Linked DNA regions of Homo sapiens: region 1 is linked to region 2. The links are contacts of gene promoters, found by promoter capture Hi-C in human tissues and cell types (Jung and others, 2019). All regions are on one chromosome and are shown on one strand. The core of a region is centred on a gene start or on the middle of the fragment in contact, and the rest is flanking DNA. Distances in the headings are between cores, read along the strand shown. Region 1 overlaps FGF12 (fibroblast growth factor 12). Region 2 holds the start of CCDC50 (coiled-coil domain containing 50).

What was found. Contacts are between HindIII fragments. The study calls those that stand out against the background at their distance.
Region 1: a contact is called between a fragment that was not itself captured here and the fragment with the promoter of CCDC50 in region 2, in 1 of the 25 tissues and cell types used here (dorsolateral prefrontal cortex).

Annotation. Positions count from the first base shown.
Region 1 is chr3:192,434,870-192,437,602 of GRCh38, reverse strand. All of the region lies in intron 2 of FGF12 (fibroblast growth factor 12), which reads left to right. Among named protein-coding and RNA genes, the nearest start is that of FGF12-AS2, 79 kb to the left of the region's middle. The HindIII fragment of the contact is 4,564 bases long and covers 1-2,733 here.
Region 2 is chr3:191,327,791-191,330,643 of GRCh38, reverse strand. CCDC50 (coiled-coil domain containing 50) reads right to left here and starts at 1,250. Exons shown (of 12, transcript NM_178335.3): 1 at 921-1,250. The coding sequence starts at 969. It overlaps UTS2B (urotensin 2B), which reads left to right and starts at 118. Exons shown (of 9, transcript NM_198152.5): 1 at 118-230; 2 at 1,935-2,013. RefSeq lists enhancers at 481-1,081, 1,082-1,683 and silencers at 1,095-1,374, 1,475-1,554. The HindIII fragment of the contact is 10,513 bases long and covers 1-2,853 here.

The DNA.
Region 1 (2,733 bases), core at 151-2,650, 1.1 Mb before region 2:
TCTCTGCCTCAGCTTCCTGAGTAGGTGGGATTACAGGCACCCACCACCACACCCGGCTAATGGTTTGTATTTTTAGTAGAGATGGGGTTTCACCATCTTGGTCAGGCTGGTTTTGAACTCCTGACCTTGTGATCCACCCACCTTGACCTCCCAAAGTGCTGGGATTACAGGCGTGAGCCACGGCGCCTGGCCAGTTTGCTCACTCTTACACATTCCACTGACTTCCTTAAACCTTCTGGCTAAAAGGCGATGCTACCTCTCAACTAGTTCTCTACACAAATAGCATTTTTTGTTAGCTCCTTGTATTTGATGAACTTCTTTAACAAAGATGATAGTATTTCTATTTTCCTAATGATTTTGAGAGTGGTATTGTTAGTATTTTTTTGTAGTCTGCAATCCTATCACAGGCACTTCCTCTAGTCGCTAGCCTTTTATTTCCTCCATTTTCCCAGAGTTCTCCCTGCTCCCCTGTGCTTACTTAACTATGCCCCTTCTACCCGGCTTCTCTTGCTGCAAGACCTTTTAAGGAATTATACACTATTCATTCATAAGATGCAATTCAGACTATATCACTCTCGTCCTTAAACACCTCCATAGCCTCTAATTTTTAGAAAGAAAAGCCTGAGTTTCTTGGCACAGCATAGAGTGAGCACTCAAGAAATTTTTTACGTAGATAATTTCATACATTAATCTTTGTGTCCTTTCATATCTTCCCACCTTTGTGTTCTCCAGCACTGGAACACAGTCTGTGTTGGGAGACAGCAGTTTGCGTATAGTCAGCTACCCAAAAAAGGGGGATGCGTTCTAGTTTTTTCTGGGAATGCCACCTTAAGCATAACTTCACCTAGAATTTCAATCTACAGGGCAAGAAATTGTTGATCAGACAGGCTACTCAGAAACATGTATAATCTTAAAAGTATCTTGAACATGCAGTTATTTTGGGAAACTGACATTGTGCAATCTAACCCAGTGGCTGTCCAGCCTGGATACACCTTAGAAACACCTGGAGAGCTTTGTAAAACTACCGAAGTCAAAGCCTTGCTCCAGACAAATTAGCTTATTCATGATTGCTCGTTTACAACGGAGGTTTTCCAATTGTGGGCCCCACATCAGCAGCATCGGCAGCACCCAGGAGCTCACTAGTACTAAAATCTCTTGACTCCTTTTGAATTGGAAATCTGGAAGTAAGGCCCAGCGATCCGTGTTTTACTAAGCCCTCCACTTGATTCTGCTGTGTATGACTATTTGAGAACCCCTAATTTACAGCAGTAAGCTCTGATTCTCAGTACCACTGTATCCCAGAGGCAAAGCTAGGCGCAAAGGAAGGTGAATGTTCCTCTCTGGTATGGTACTGCTCTACAACAAAGTATCTAATTTTTGGCCCAGGAGGCTTCTCATCTTTATTAATTTAAGTGGGATCACCATCTACAATGGGAGTGAGCTTCTTGTAGACATGGACTATGACAGTATTGTCCTGAGGTCACGTTCTTCTGTTTCCTTCAGAGCTCCAACCCCTAGCACGAGGCCTGGCGTGAAGTGAGTGTTCAATAAAGACGAGGAGAAAACTTTGAGAATTGCTTGGGCTAACTGAGAGAAGTAGACGTATTCGCTGTGGTGTGTTGGTTTCCTCAAATTGTGTTGTTTCAAAAAATATTCTTCAAAATAAATATTCTTTTTAAAAATGCCAGGGAATTGTAAAAGCTGGTTAAGCAAATGTTATTTATCATTTATGCTTCTGAAAATGTGATAACAAGGCTTAGCATGGTAACACATTGAAAATTACTCTGCACTGGGAAAACGACAGAAGCAGATTGTATCCTCAGAGCCCAAACAGAAGAACAGGAGAAGAAATGCTTATTTTGATTTAGGCTTGATATACTTTATCAGAAAAGCAAAGCTGTTTCATCCTTCAGAGTAACTTGCCTTTTAGAAAACAGAATTTCTGAGAGAGAAAGACCTAAGGAAGTTACTAGGTACAGAGGAGAAAAGTAAGGCCCAGGAGGCTCATGTATAGCCTGCTGGCCGAACAATGCTGTTCTGGGACCAGAAATTGGGTTTCCAGTACATTATCTGTGATACCACATGGTCAAAATGGATCGCCAACTTCCCGAAACTTGCAAGTTCAGGACATCACCAAGCCTGGGGATTATCACAGTGAGCAGTCCTGGGAGTAAGAAGCCAGATGGCCAGGCTCTTTTAGAGGCTTTTGCTAAGCTCTCCTGTCTCTTTTAAGTAGTTTTCAATTTCAGAATTAAAATTTTCACTGTATTTCCTTTAGCAGTAATTACAAATTCATTCTTCATTTAGCAGTCAAAGAAATGAAGTTTTTTTAAAAAAAACTAGTGTTGCACTAAATGAAAAAGATCTGAGATAAACCCAGAATATTCCCCCAACTTCACAGCCTGGAATGTTCTTCTAAAGCTTTCTGATTTGTGGTTTAAAGTAGAAAATAGAGACTTTATGCTTTATAGATCATAGAACATTGGAACAGCTGTAAAATCACTTACCCTGTTGAGGAAAATGAGACCAAGACGGGGATAGGAGCTGGAGTTGTCCAAAGTGTCAAAGATGGAATAATTGTGAAAATGGGACCTAAGGCCAGTTCTCCTGACTTTTTCTTCAGTGCTCTTTAAACCCTTCAATGGCTAAGACAGCACCACTGAGAAACATGCGCATAGACCTGAAAAGCGGTTGGATAAATGTACTGCTAACCGCAATTAAATGGATAGAGAA
Region 2 (2,853 bases), core at 1-2,500:
ATGACATTCACAACAGAAGCCGATTTTGCAAAGCCCTTGGAACTTAGGGGTCTGCGTCAGCACTCTGGAACGTCTATGCTTCCTAGGACCAAAGAATAAACAAAGATAACTCAAGGCATAAGGCGATCCAGCACCTAAGATCTCAGCAAAAAAAAGCTAGGTCCTGAGGCAGCTAGTGGAAAAACAAGAGAAGGGAAGTCAAAAGGCTACTTGCTGTCAGCTAAAGCCAGGTCAGTACTAATCTCTACTTTCCTGGACATTGGTACAAAAAGCAATGACAAGGCCATCAGTCCCCTGTTCCCCTCGCTCACTATTGTGTGTGTGTGTGTGTGTGTGTGTGTGTGTGTTTTGTTTGTAAGAAAATGCTTATAGTGGCTTCCCGCCCGCGCAGAACACAGCCAAGACTAAACTTTTAAACCTTGAGGAAGGTGGGAAAGTCAGCCAGCCAGACGCCGGCCTAGGAAAAGTAGGGAGAGAAGGAGGGAAAGAGTCATGTTTCAAAACAAAGGCTCCACACGGAACTGAATGTCAACCCCTCTCCACTTCCCAGCCTTCAAGCCAGCCAGGCTGGGCCTCGATTTTTTAGAAGCGGAGTAAGTCAGATTCACCCGGCTCTCAGCGTCCACTGAGGCTTTGCGATGCACGAGAACACGGGCACAGCCACCTACTTGCTGGGGCTGCTGCTAGCCCCCCCCCCCCCCAACCACCCCCTTGAGAAAAAACGGGCTTGGAACGTCGGAGACTTGCCCAACGTCCCACACTAGAACCTGAATTCAATTCCTTTCACGTCCGGGCAAGGCCAACGCAGGGCGGGCACCGGGCGAGGGCCGCGGGAGCCGAAATGGCAACGCCCCTGACCTGAGAGAACCTCGGGCTGGGAGAGGGGAGGGTCCCGCGCGCTCTCCCTCCGGGGCCCTTACCTTCCTTGACTCCAGGCAGCTTGGACTGGTCGATGCTGACTTCAGCCATACCGGGCCAGGGTCCCGGTTGCCCCTTTAACGCGGGCTTCCCGGTCACCGCCGGCGCCGAGCGGGGCCCCGAGCGCAGCAGCAGCGCCGGACGCGGCGCAAAGTCCGGCCGGCAGGGCTCGCAGGCCGGAGAACGGAGCGGGTCGGGCGGGCAGGGGCTGGTGACCAAAGCAGCGGGAGACGGTCCCCGAGGCACCAAGCTGGCGGCCCAGCTGCCCCGCCGCGGCCACCTGCTCCGCGTCCCCGGCCCCAATCGATACCAAATATCCGGAGCCCGGAAATGGACCGGGGCCGTCCAGTACGGAGGGAGAGAGGAGACAGAAAGGCGGGCGGGCCGGCTGGGGGAGGGGGAGCTGCAGGTCTGTAACCGCAATTGCGAGTGGCTGGCGAGCGAAGATCAGCGCCCGCTGCCGCCTCGCTGTTGTCTCCTTTGTGCTCAGTGACGCGCCGCCTGAGGCTGGGGCCCCGCTGTGCTCCCGCCCCCGGGCCCTGCCCCCCTCCTACGGGAGGGTCGCGTCTTTAGGTGGGGGCCTTGTATCCTAAAGGCCTCAACAAAAAGGCCACACGGGTCACCTAAAACATAGTCTTTCCCGTGAGCGGTGTAGTCAGCATTCTGTGGTCTGGTTCTGGGATTGAGATTAACACAGGATGTTTACTGCATGCTTGCCTCTCTCTCATACACTCTTTTTGCACCCGGAATTAGAGGAGAGATGGTAGATGGCCATAAAAACCCCAAATACAACGTACAGAATGAAGAGCAGCTGATAAAATTCTGGGCCAGTTTGGAGTAGAGTGTGTACACAATCAGCTGGGAGAACTGAGTCATTCATTCATCAAAATCGCATGAATGTGTCTACCAAGTGTGATGTTAGGTACTGTGGGTGATAACGAGGCGTCAGACTTATCTCTGTTATAGCGCTGCACACATTGGATTGTAATTGTGACATTTCTATCTCTCTAAAATAGACAACCTCTCCTGTTTCATCTCCTGGCAACAGAATGCATCCTCCTTTTGGGAAACTGCCTCTTTCCCCACTCCTCAGAGGTGAGCTTCTCTCCCAAACGTGTGCCATGTCTGAACCTCGAGACTACCCCATCACTCTTCCCCCTTCCTCCACCGACATGGGTTCATCGAAGGGTGGCTGGGTGACCAAGACAGGTCAAACAGAATACTTTCCTGGGTACATAAAGAGTTACATATTCTGTTTCTTGTGGAAAAGATCTGCCTCTAGGAGATGATGAGGCCAAACTGAAGACAGAAGCAAAGAGAAGAGAAAGGGAGATGAAGAGGGCATGTTCTGATGTTACCACAGTAGCAAAGCAGGATATCCCCAGAGCAGCTGGCATTTCAGCAACTCCTGGATTCTGGGATCTACAACCCGCAAACTCTCAACTTATCCTCAGTTTTGCTTAAGCTAGTAATAGTTGATTTTCTGTCACTCACAGCTCAGAGTCCCAGTATGAGAGGCCACGTAGGGGAGGTTTTATTTGAACTTGACATTGAAAAGTAGGTGGATTTTAGGCTAGCAAAAATTTAGAAGACTTTCAAGGCCAGAGGGTAGCAAAGTATAGCCCACAGGCCAAATCTACGCCACTGAATTTGAATGACTGTTTTTTATATGTTCAAATAATTACATTTCAAATCACTACATAAATAGGACATAATATTTTCGACCTTGCCTCTTAAGCCTCAAAGTCTAAAATATGCTTTACAGGAAAAGTTTACCCACCCCAGTGCTAGGCAGAGATAACACTCAGCAGGTTAAATGTGGGAATAAGAAGGAAGTGGTATTAGAAAGGTAGATTTATGGGAATTTTTTAATTGTCCTGTAATCTAGTAATTTTTTTTAACTTCCTGTGGTCTAGAGAATATTTATAACAGCAG